Regions from separate parts of the Homo sapiens genome. Here all the other regions are linked to region 1. Evidence: promoter capture Hi-C in human tissues and cell types (Jung and others, 2019). All regions are on one chromosome and are shown on one strand. The core of a region is centred on a gene start or on the middle of the fragment in contact, and the rest is flanking DNA. Distances in the headings are between cores, read along the strand shown.

What was found. The method cuts DNA at HindIII sites, captures the fragments that hold promoters and counts their contacts. A contact is called where the count stands out against the background at its distance.
Region 2: a fragment that was not itself captured here is called in contact with the fragment with the promoter of VWF in region 1 in 2 of the 25 tissues and cell types used here (H1 embryonic stem cells and spleen).
Region 3: a contact is called between a fragment that was not itself captured here and the fragment with the promoter of VWF in region 1, in 1 of the 25 tissues and cell types used here (neural progenitor cells).

Annotation. Positions count from the first base shown.
Region 1 is chr12:6,123,337-6,125,919 of GRCh38, forward strand. It overlaps VWF (von Willebrand factor), which reads right to left and starts at 1,334. Exons shown (of 52, transcript NM_000552.5): 1 at 1,085-1,334. The HindIII fragment of the contact is 10,588 bases long and covers 1-2,583 here.
Region 2 is chr12:5,970,053-5,975,068 of GRCh38, forward strand. It overlaps VWF (von Willebrand factor), which reads right to left. Exons shown (of 52, transcript NM_000552.5): 44 at 1,547-1,657. Among named protein-coding and RNA genes, the nearest start is that of ANO2, 27 kb to the left of the region's middle. RefSeq lists an enhancer at 1-128. The HindIII fragment of the contact is 8,398 bases long and covers 1-5,016 here.
Region 3 is chr12:6,264,584-6,269,599 of GRCh38, forward strand. All of the region lies in intron 2 of LOC105369625 (a long non-coding RNA gene), which reads right to left. Among named protein-coding and RNA genes, the nearest start is that of PLEKHG6, 44 kb to the right of the region's middle. RefSeq lists an enhancer at 4,252-4,997. The HindIII fragment of the contact is 4,977 bases long and covers 228-5,016 here.

The sequences.
Region 1 (2,583 bases), core at 84-2,583:
CTTTGAACATGGACTTCTGGCCCCCGAAAAAACCCCTGGCCAGTGCCAGGCCCAAGGGTAACAATCGCTGTGAGCTGGGACCTGTGGGCACCTTTCCACAGACAGCAGTCCCAGGCCCAAGACAGGAGGAAAACGCTGCCTTCCCTCCAGGCCCGCTGGGCCTCACATCCCTGCCTCCTGAAGCAGCTGGGAGCTAACACACACCTCATTCCTTCCTGCCTCTGCATCCAAACTGGCGAGTAGGAACCGTCTTACACTTGTGTGCCCACCACAGCAGCCCAGACATAGAGAATGCTCAGGAACCACCAACTTGACGGTTTGCTTGTTGGCCCCTGACTCTGTACCACAAGTGCCTTCACAAGAGCAAAGGCTGTCTCCCTTGCCTCCAACCCCAGCACCTGGCAAGATGCTTAGCACCCAGGAGATGCCCAGCAAATGTTTGCTGAGTTCATCTGAAAAAATGGACAGGAGTCCAGCGGCCCTGGATGCAGGCAGACTTCCCCACTGTGTGACCCCCAAGAGAGGGACAATTCATCCTGGCTGGCAGAGCGTACCCCAAGTCACTTAGAGCCCCTGCTGTAGCCCCTCTCCTCGGGAAAAGTTGTTAAATGAAGTGCAGAATCTGCTGCCTGAGATTCACTGGGGGTGACTCCCTTCCTACCTAAGGTCCCATCCAGCCAAAGGTGAAATCAAGCCAATCTGTGATACATCTGTGGAAGGAACACTGAGATGTCAGATACTGCCAGGTCTCGGTCTCCAAGCAGGTGTCCCCTCCCAGTCCTAACACGCAGGTACATTCAGCTGCTCCCAGGTTCTCAGAGGTGAGGGCAAACTTCATTCCAACTCATTTGAGTGAAGTACTATCAAACAGTAAAACCCACTGCATGAAGAAAAGCAGCCCCAGGACCCTCAGAGGCAAGTGGAGGAGGGAGTATTAGGATCATCCCTGGCTGAATTGAATTGCCCCTCCAAACAAAGCCCTTCTAGTCCAGCGACAGAGAACTCCAGCTCCCCAGGAGCAGGGATCAGTCAGTCCTGCATCTTCCTCCCACAACTGAGCCAGCTCTCCTTCCAAAGGCCATACCTTCCCCTGCAAATGAGGGCTGCGGCTATCTCCAAGGTCCCTGGGAAACTCAGCTGCTGGACAATGGTGCCGCCCACCCTAGGCCATGCTCTCAGCTGCTGCAAAGGCTCAATCAGGTCTGCTACAGCTCCGGACTGTCTTGCTGTTATGTAGCCCAGGGGCTGTGGAGTCCCCACTGCTGGGGGAGATAAAGCCCAAGCTGTGACATCCACCAACCACCCTCCCTTTCCCACCACAATAGCTGTGAGCTGCCACAACAGGGGATTGGCCTCCTTTTAATTACCAAAAGGAAACAATGAAAGGAAATGGTATTAGAAGTACCTCCAAGCTGATAAAGCTTTGTAGAGTTTGGAGGGAGACCTCCTGGCAGCTGCCTTAATTAACTGCCTTGCCCTCCCCAAACACCCCCTATCCCTACACCCCCACACTTGATCCCTGGTCTTCCTAGAGTGCCCCACCTGTGTGGGATAACCAGGAATGCTGGTTGTTTCAGGGCAAGCTGATACAGGCCAGGGGGAATCACAGTAGAACAACACAGCTTCCTGATCCAGCTTCCAGGGCTGGACTCCAGGGAAGTTGAGAAAAACACCTCAACCTGAGCCAATTTTGCTGCTGTGTTTGGAGGAAGGGGAGTACTAACACTTCCTATGCACCCCAGGTATGAAGGATCCGGTCCTGGCCCTGACAAAAACAGTCCATTTGGATCCTGGCCAGGGTTGAATGGATCGGCTAAAGATGAAGGTCTTGGCCACAAGCCTAAGCCTTTGTAAAATGGTGAAGGTGGGGAGTGATGGTTTGAGTCTAATACTTCTACTGTTGCTACATTCTAATAATTCTAATTCTCAAGGACATTTCCACCCACTTCTGGTACCCTGATCTTACACACACACACACACACACACACACACACACACACACACAATTCTTCTTCCCAGCCTCCCATTCCCAAAAGCCTAATTCTCAACACCATCTGCTAAACTAATTCCTACTAAAATAAGTAACTGATGCAATGGGCAGCGGTGGGGGGAAGATGACTCTCGTGCTGGGATTCCAGGCACTGAGACAAGCACCCTGAGGCATGTCTGGGTATGGAAGACCTCCTCACTGCTTCTCCATGATACCTCCTGCCCTAAGACTTTGAGAAACCACTAGGTTCCAACCTCCTCCCTTCCCACATACCTCGCACTCTGCTACTCCCTTTACCGCCCCAGGAGAGGAAGATGCACACTCCCAAGGAAGAAAAATGGCACCAGAGGCAGAATCAGCATGAGACAGTAGAAAAGGCCATTGGGGGGCCGGGCACGGTGGTTCACGCCTGTAATCCCAGCACTTTGGGAGGCCGAGGTGGGCGGATCACGAGGTCAAGGGATCAAGACCATCCTGGCTAACATAGTGAAACCCCGTCTCTACTAAAAACACAAAAAATTAGCCAGGCGTGGTGGCGGGCGCCTGTAGTCCCAGCTACTCGGGAGGCTGAGGCAGGAGAATGGCGTGAACCC
Region 2 (5,016 bases), core at 1,353-3,852, 150 kb before region 1:
GTGCCTGCTTATTTCTTCTCCTTCCAGATGAGGTGTAGAAAATGCCAAACACTTGCAGCCATTCTCTTCACCCCCCACTCCTGACTCCCTGTGGCCAAATCTTCCCACTGCAGGCCTGATTCCACCCTCCAGACTTCTCCCTCCTCTGATTACTCACTCACTGAGCCTTGGCCACTGGCTCATTAAGAGGACCCATTGCCACCACCCCCCGCTGACCCCTGACATGGTTCAGCAGCAAAGCCATTGCCAACACCCAAGTCTTTTAGGTAAGATGGAGACTTGAGGTAGAGGAGAGAAGCCCAGGTCACCTTATGCTTTGCAAACACTGATGAGGGGCAGGGTGGGGTAGGCCTTGAAGGGAGATGAGAGATGGGGAAAGGGGCAGGAATACTGAGCGCAAAGGGACCAGCTCTCAGCCCCACCAGGATGGGGCAGCCCCTGATCTGAGCTGGACCTTGACCCTGGGGAGAAGAAACAAAACCTGCCTCCATCCAGGGCACATGGGAGCAGAAGCACTAAAAGGTGGGGAGGGGAGAACACAGGGAAGAGAACCCATAGGCAACTCGGACTAGAGGGGGAGGTGGAAACTCACCTGAAAAAGCCCAGTGAGTCATTCTGTTATCACTGGGGAGGAGAAAGGCAATGGGCCTGGGTAGGAGATGGGAAAGGCTCAGGACAAGATAGCAGACCTTTGGCCTTCCTCTCGAAGGGAAGCGCATTGGTCTTGCTGGGGAAGACAGAGGCAAGGCCCATATGGGCAGTTCACCTGTTCCCAGCACCAGCTCCCAAGGCTGCCAGGACTTGGCACCACCCACCTTATCCTTCTGACCAGACTGAAAGAACTGTGATTCTCCTAGCATCTGGACTAAAACCGCCAAAGACGGAATCCTCTGTGTTTAAGAAAATGGCTTGATGAGCATCAGAGTCTAAGAGAGAACCTGGCAGCACATGGGGGACAGCTGAACTGCTCTGTGTTAGAAGAAGGGACTGGCGGGGGTGAGCCAGCCAGGAGAGGACAAGAGTGGGGCAATGGGGGGCTGGCAAGATGCCCCAGCCAGACCTGCAGAAATAGCAGAGGGACTGTGGGAAATACTGTTCCTTTTCTGGGTTGTAAAGGTTTCCACCTCCCTAAAACCACCAAGGAGGTTTCAGTAGAAATCAGTGAAAAGGTCTGAGGACCCTGCCTGGGTTGATGTGGTCCAGAACAGTACTTGCAGCCTGTGGCACTTTGGAGGGGTGGTGAGGCCATCCCAAAACCAGCCCCTCAGCCACAGCACCTCAGATTCACAGGTGAATGAGAGAGCATGAATCCCCCTGGGAGGGCCCTGGGCTTCTCCCAAAATCTACAAAATGGGAAGGCTGAGGCCGTCTTAACTGGTTCCTAAGGGGCAGGTCATCCCAGCTGGCATCTGGATAACACCAACAGCTGGGTGAAATGCCCAGTGGGGAAAGCAAAGGGCAGGGAATGAGATGAAACCAAGGTCAACGCTGGTCCCTGGAGTGGCCCCAATCTGCCCTCCTCCCCGTCCCGGGGGCCTGGACCTACACTCTTCCAGGAAGACTGGGAGTCCCCCCGCGGTGAGCCAGTCACCACCTCACAGGCAGATGGCAGGCACCTTCCACAGCACTCGCCTTCATGCAGAACGTAAGTGAAGCCCTGGAAAAGCAGAAAAAACAGAGTAAGGACAGGCCAGCAGCAAAGACACAGGGGCTCTTACCTACGCCTCCTGCGTACTGAGCCCTGGGGTTGTGCCAAGTGATCACTGGTCTGGGCATTTTCATCTTTGTTGTCAACCAGCCTCAGGGCCATGCCAAGAAGCAGCAACCACCAGGTCACTAAACGAAGTCTTACATCAGCTGCAGAGATATAATTCTGCCCCCTGAAAGATCCCACTTTGAGAGAGACCATGATCCAGTCCATAGGAGCATTAAAGACAGCCCAGAGTTCCCTTAGCAGCAGCTTACTAATCTGGCCCTTATCATGGCCAACTCTAGGGACCCTCACTGACCGGGAGGCACACTCAGGATGACTGGGATCCAGTCTCCACTCTCGCAGGGCTAGCCTCCCATACAAGACGAACACTCGATCCCAATACTGCTCACCAACGTGCAGATTTGGGCTTCCCCAAGAGGTTACTTGACATTTACCTAGTAATTTATAGGGTACGGTGTTCTTTACAAAAGAAAAGTGAGATGAGAGAGCAACAGACAAAGCTTCCCCAGAAAGCATGCCAGGGAGACCAGCATCCTGGAAGTTTGTCAGCCCATCTTGCCTCTAGAAGGTCCTCCAATCTGGCTAAAGCATCATGAACATGGACTGAAACCCTCCTCTGAAAAGTCTATAGAAAGAATAGTCAAAGCAATGACAGTGTGTTTGTCCCAGGAGCCAAGAGAAAAGAACCCAGGACTACGTTCCATCTTGGAGCTGTGTCCTTAAGAGAGAAAGAGTAACCACAGCTGTTCAGGACGGGTGTGGATGGCAGCCTGCTCTGCTCCCCAAGCACTCTCCCCAGCAGGGCCGAATCTGAAGATGCACAACACGTGTGCCTCTCTCTGGACGGTCTCAACACTCCTGAGACTTGGCTCAACCCCACCCAGTCTCCACGAGACCTACTGATATCACCGCCCACCTCCCAGCAGTGTGCAGTGAGCTGTCTCCAGGCTTTTATCAGCCAAGATTCTAGTCATTTACTGTGCACCTATGATGTACTAGGTACTACGGAGGAGACAACAAATTAGGATGCCTCAATCTGTGTACACACCCTCCAAGATACAGCAGAACATTCAAAATGCCATTAAAGAAAAAAAACAAGGTCTCAGGGGGTCAGAAACAAAGACTCAAAGAACACAGAAGACAGTAATTAATACCTTTAGGGATCTGCTGTCATTCTCGTACGCCTCTCTAGAAGGCTGAATGATCGAGATTCGCATATTATTTTTGTTTCCTGTTGCCTCTCACCATGGGCAAACAGTGTCAATATTACGGATGGCTCCCAGGCCAGATGTCTGTTCCCACAGCCCCACTAGCTTCTCAAACCCAGACACTTTTAGCCATCCCTCCAAATTTCCATCTTTCTAAGATTCCCCTCCATACCCCACAGCAACCCTGTTTTCTGGCTGCACAACCAGGGTCCAACCTATATTTTTCAATTCTTTATTTTCCCTTCCTCCAACAAATTCCCTCGCTTATATCGACATTTGATATCTTGTATCAAAATACACATCCCAGGCCCTTCTCCTGGCTCTCTTCTCCACCCTGTTTTCATTGGTTTCCCAAATAAGAATGAAACTAAGTAGGTCTACTAGCCACCCAACCTGAAAACATATGCACTGAAAAATAAATTATGAATGTATCTAGCAGCACAATCCTTTAAGCACAATTGCTATAACTGAAATGGAGGTGGTAGATGCCAAGCTCTGGTCACTTGTCCCCTCTGAGGCAATCTGAGGAGCACAGTTTGAAAAGCTGACTTCCTGGGTCAGACTGGCCCTTGCAACACTGGAGTTGCGGGTTGTACCAGCCTAACAGGACGAGCTCTGGGCTCGGGTCAGGACCCTCCAGTGTCCACAGGCTTCATATAAGCTACAGAGGTTCTGGCCAACCCCATTCCCTGGGGTGGCCCTGTTTCCTGTCTGATACTGAGAAGAACAGCCCTCCCTCTTCTTCTTCCTGAGGAGTATCACAGAGTAAATAATATCTAATGGACTTCCTTTGGCTTCTCAGAATACAGTTCCTACACCTTGACTGAGCCTCATTCAGGAGCCTACGGGTGAGGAGTCAGATGGCCATCAGGCTTCATGGAAAATCCCCTCAAAGGCTTGTACAGAGGTGCAGGCCTCCTCTCACTATGGACATGGAAGCAAGGCCATCGCCTGAGGCCCGCTTAGAACATTCCTGAGAAGCCGCCAATGCCCCTGCTTGCCTGCCACCATTCCTCTGACACGAAGAGCAGAGAACTATGGAGGAGCTTGGGGAAAGTGTGTTTCTGCAGACTGTGGCTTCAGGGTGATGATGGTAGTGTTGTTCTTTCTTTTCTGTCACAACCTAGACAACACATGGACCGGCATATATGAGCCCAAGTGCCTCTGAGGTCGGACCAGAGCTAATAATGCTAACAATACTACCCTCTTTGCAGAATGAAGTCTGAGACCATCTGTAACTTACTTAAGCTCCCACCTCACTCAACACAGTACAGATCGAAGCCCAGCCTCCCACGTCCCCTGAGATTTTAAACCATGAGGCTCCCTTCTCCTCCCCAGAAGATGTGAACATTCAGCCTCTAAGACAGGGCACTCGATTCCCTAGAGCAATCACACGGTCAAGAGTTCTAGACATGGTTCCTCCTCCACTCCTGCCCTGACCTCCCTACTCATCTTCTTTTTGAAACTTCCCCCAGCTTTTCTACGCAGCCAGGATTATACCCCAGGACCTGCAGCTCCCCCAATAGTTGACTGGACCAGAGCATGAACTGGACAGCGGACCCGATCCAAGGGCTGAGCTGGGCCTGTCAACTTTCCTCTTGAGAAGTTGATCCATGAAACACAAAGACCAACTAAGTCAGACTGGACAGGGATGAACCACGGATCTGAAAAGCTGTGTGGAGTTGAAGTGAGATTTAACAAAGCTGTGTGTAAACAAAATGTGTGAGAAAGCAAAACTTCTGCACAGAGGAAGCTGGCCTGCAGTGAGGAGCTGGAGCAGACGGACAGAAATACCGGCTCTTAGGACAAATGGAGAGACATGCTGTAGGACCACGGTGCCCACCTACAAATCCTGCACTTCCTGTCTGAAAGATCCTCCTGTATCTTTTCTACAAATCCCCTTTTATTGTAGCTAGCCTGAATGGGTTCTATTCTTTGCAAGCAAAACTCCCCACTGAAACACGAAATATATTGGTTGTCAATTTTCTAAAAATGACCTCTAAGCAGCACTCTCTTTATTTGACAGCAAGTTATTTCCCTGGCCTCAGATGGCCTGTGAGAGGAGAAGAAAACCAAAGGGTTTCCAAAACTTAG
Region 3 (5,016 bases), core at 1,466-3,965, 140 kb after region 1:
CAGGGCCCACTGGCGTCGTGCCAGCCCTTTCAGGTAACTTAGGTCAATGAGAAACAAACAGGTTCCAGAACTTTCTCTAGATCATACTGCAGCAGGTGCTGAAGTGGGGATTTGAACCAGGTTCACCACACTTTGAAACCCATGCTCTCTTTACCACCGCTTGAGACACCCAAACACACACATGTATCGGCACGGCTACGTCTCCCGGTCTGTTTCCAGTTTCACGTTCCTCCCTCCTGGGCCAAACCACCACTGGGGACTCTTTTCTTCCTACAGCTCCAGGCAGCGCTGCATCATGGAAAGGTCACTCAGCTCACATTCATGACATGCTTTCTGTATGCAAGGCAGATCAGATCTAAGGGCAAACAAACATACCCAAACCCAGGGGACTACTGAGCACAGACAAATAAATAAGCAATTACAGTACAAAACAAGAAGTGATCAAGAGATACATAAGAGGACCCAAGAGCCCTCAGAAGGCCACTTACACTGCAGGAGGGGCCTTAGGAAATACTTCCCTGAGAAAGTGACATTTAAGCTGAGACCAAGGTATTAATACTACAAAGGAGTTACCTAAGGAAGGAAGACAGGGGGTGAGGGAGGGCCATCCACACAGGCTCTAGAGCAGGCGGCCTGGTTTTGAAACCAGCACCAGCACTGCCTGCCTGTGCCTGATGCACTCAGTGCAGCTGCACTTAACTTCTCCAGCCTCAGTTTCCTCATCGTAAAATGGCTAGTAAGCCTGCTCATTCCTGTAATCCCAGCACTTTGGGAGACTGAGGCAGGAGGATGACTTGAGTCCAGGAGTTCAAGACCAGCCTGGACAACATAGGGAGACCCCATCTCCAAAAAAGAAATAGACAAAACAAAACACAACAAAATGGATAGTAATAGTACCTGCCTCTTTGGGTTGTAGTTGGGAAAATTGAGTTAACACATCCAAGTGCTTAGAACAACAACTGACACAAAAGGTTCCTTAAATGTTCAATTAAAATATATGAAGAAGCGGCCGGGCGTGGTGGCTCACGCCTGTAATCCCAGCACTTTGGGAGGCTGAGGCGGGTGGATCATGAGGTCAGGAGTTCAAGACCAGCCTGGCCAAGATGGTGAAACTTCATCTCTACTAAAAATACAAAAAAATTAGCTGGGCGTGGTGGCATGCGCCTGTAATCCCAGCTATTCGGAAGGCTGAAGCACAGAATTCCTTAAACCTGGGAGGCGGAGGTTGCAGTGAGCCAAGATTGCACCACTGCCCTCCGGCCTGGGCAACAGAGCAAGACTCCGTCTCAAAAAAAAAAAAAAAAAAAAATATATATATATATATATATATACATATATATACGAAGAGGCTAGGTGCGGTGGCTCACGCCTCTAATCTCAGCACTTTGGGAGGCCAAGGTGGGCGGATTACCTAAGGTTAGGAGTTTGAAACCAGCCTGGCCAACATGGTGAAACCCCATCTCTACTAAAAACATAAAATTAGCCAGGCGTGGTGGTGCATGCCTATAATCCCAGCTACTCAGCAGACTGAGGCAGGAGAATTGCTTAAACCTGGGAGGCAGAGGTTCCAGTAAGACAAGACTGTGCCATTGCACTCCAGCCTGGGCAACAAGAGTGAAATACTGTCTTGAAAAAAAAAAAAAAAGCAAGCACATATGAAGGGGCCAGGCATAGTGGCTCACACCTATAATCCCAACACTTTTAGGAGGCTGAGGTGGGTGGATCGTTTGAGCCCAGGAGTTCAAGACCAGCCTGGGCAACATAGGGAAACCTTGTCTCTACAAAAGAATACCAAAAAAAGCTGGGCTTGGTGGCTCATGCCTGCAATCCCAGCTACTGGGGAGGCTGAAGCACAAGAATCACTTGAACCCGGGAGGCAGAGGTTGCAGTGAGCGGAGATCACGCCACTGCACTCCAGCCTGGGTGACACAGCGTAACTCCATCTCAAAAAAAAAAAAAAAAAAGGCCAGTAGTGACCTGTATTTGCACCGCTGCACTCCAGCAGAAGTGGTTTCAGGTGCCCAAGAGCAGGTGGCGGAAGGCAGGTGAGGTGGAGAGCAGATGCCCATAAACAGGCAGGTCCATGTGGGAGGGAAGCTCCAAGAGGAGATGATGCCTTCAGCTGGGAATAGGGAGGTGGCTGGGAGTAAGCAGAGAAGGCCAGACACATCCTTAAGGGAAAATGGATGAGAAGCTTTTGAATCTGTCTGGCTGACAATAACCGCTCACCGCCTAGGACTAGACAATTCACAAGACAGTTTCTTAACACGTCCTTATTCCAACCTCAACAGCCCCAGGGAACAGGCTTGTCATTCCTCTTTGTGGGAGGGAAACTGAACCGGAGGGGGATTAAGGCCCTGGGCTTGTTCGTGGGGTCTTAGACCTAAAACCAGGTCTTCCAAGTGAGGCTGTCCTGCAGGTCTCACATGCACACGCACACACACGCACACACATACACACATGAATACACACACACCCTCCCAAAGGGTCCCGGGCCCTGCTCACTAACCCCCTCTCCCGCTCGGAAAGGTGCCCTGGAAGGCAAGTGGCAGAAGTGACTTTGTTGTGGGGATGATCTCAAACCTGCTCTCACTGGGGGGAAAGTTAGTTAATTATTCACAAATGAAAAAAACAAGGTACAGGGTAATGGGAATAATATGCTAACATTTGGGTACTAAATAAGGGAAAGGAGGAATGTGTACAAGAGTGTTTGCTGATAGGTGCACAAAATGTTTCTGGAAGGATGCCCAAATTCTGGTAAGGATGGCTGCCTCAAGGGAGGGAGCTGCCCAGAGGGAAGGAAGGGGACTTTTCAGCGTGTACCCTTCTGGGCCTTTGGAAATTTGATGTGGTTACAGAAGCAAATATGTGCTTTAAAATACACGCAAGTGCTTTGGTTATGATGAATAACAGATTACTTAAAACACACCCACGACTGAGGTATGTTGTCATGTCATGACTGAAAACCATGTTCCCCCCTGGCCCCTCCTTTCCCTCCCCACGGTTCCAGTTGTGGGAGGCCACAGGCCCGAGCGTCATGATCCTTGTGAATGAGGGGGGGCAGACCACATCAGGCTCTGCAGCCTAGACTGTCCTGTCTGCCTCTTTGGGTGACCACAATCGCACCCACTCAAGCTAGACTGGAAAAGAGGGGAGACCAGGAGCCGTGGCTCATGCCTATAATCCCAGCACTTTGGGAGGCCGAGGTGGGTGGATCACCTGAGGTCAGGAGTTCAAGACCAGCCTGGCCAACATGGTGAAACCTCATCTCTACTAAAAAATACAAAAATTAGCCAGGCGTGGTGGTGGATGCCTGTAATCCCAGCTACTCGGGAGGCTGAGACAGGGAGAACTGCTTGAACCCGGGAGGCAGAGGTTACAGTGAGCCGAGATTGTGCCATTGTACTCCAGCTTGGGTGACAGGAGCGAAACTTCATCTCAAATAAATAAATAAATAAAAATAGGGCAGTGGAGCACAGGTGTGGTCCCAGCTACCGGGGAGGCCAAGGCAGGAGGACTGCTTGAGCCCAGGAGTTCAGTGAGCTGAGATGGCACCACTGCACTTCAGCCTGAGTAACAGAGCAAGATCCTGTCTCAAAAAAACAAAAGAGTATAAACTCAAAAATACACATCAGTGTAGTATGGGAAGTTAATATTTTTAAAAATAAGATAAAATAATAATAAATTAATTTAAAAGTAATAAAAAAATTTTTAAAACAGCACGGGATTCTTGTCCAGAATTGACAACACAAAGGGACTGAAGCGTTCCAGGCCCCAGGAGCAGCCATGCAGCAGGCCTCTTAATTCAGAGAGCAGACAGCGCTCAGGCACCCATGCCAGGCCCGAAATGGTCATCCCTCTGGTGGGCTACCTCTTTTTCTGCTTTTTCAATGTGTCTTCCTGCTTCTGCCCCCTCTACCAGGAGGCCCAGCTCATCACATCGCTCAGACACCAAAGCCCCCCAGTGACCCCTGGTCAGCTGTGGTGGGGCTGCCCTTGGGCAGGGTGCCCAATGCTGGGCCAGTCAGCTGAGGTCAGAGGGGACAGGGCCATGTGGGTCAGGACAGGAAATGCCCACCCTAGGAACGCGCAGCAGGGAGCCGGGAGAAGCTCAGTTTCTCTCAGAGGGGGCTGTAGGCGGGGCATTCATGTGGTGGACAAAAAACCTCCAGGACGCCTTCAGTCCAGCAGCCTTAGTTCACCTCTCCAGGCCAGCCTGGCCTCACCTGACCTCCAGGCACTGCCTTCCCTGGATGTGTACTTGCGAACAGAGGCGAAGATACCTTCCCCCATCTAAGAGCCAGGAGAAATATCACTGATATTTGTTACAAGGGAGAAGCCCCAGCTTTATAAATACCTGCCTACAAAGGGCCCTCACATGTACCCCTCCTCCCTTCCCTCCTCGGCCCCAGCCTCTGGCAGCCACCCCACTTGCTGCCTTTGCCAGGGCTCCAGCAGTAGTGAAAATATTTGGAGATTTTGGCCAACCCACGAAGCAAAAAAAAAAAAAAAAAAAAAAAAGAGCAAAATAAACCACCAAGAAAGCATGGGATTTTAAAATCAGAAAGACCTGGATTTCCTTCTACCTCTGCCACTCGCTAGCTTTATGATCTTAGATCAGGCACTTAACCTCACTCAGTTTCTTCACCTGTGAAGTGGGAGGGACAACACCTAATTCACAAGGTTGTCAGGAGAATGAAAAGCGAAGATATACATGACAAAGCCAGCCCACTACGGGGCACACAGTACAGGCTCACAAATGGCTGCCCCACCATTCCCTTTCTCCTTACATTTTCTTTCTTTTTTTTTTTTTTTGAGACAGAGTCTCACTCTGTCGCCCAGGCTGGAGTGAAGTGGCATCATCTCTGCTCACTGCAAGCTCTGCCTCCCGGGTTCACGCCATTCTCCTGCCTCAGCCTCCCGAGTAGCTGGGGCTACAGGCACCCACCACCACACCTGGCTAATTTTTTTTGTATTTTTTAGTAGAGACGGGGTTTCACCATGTTAGCCAGGATG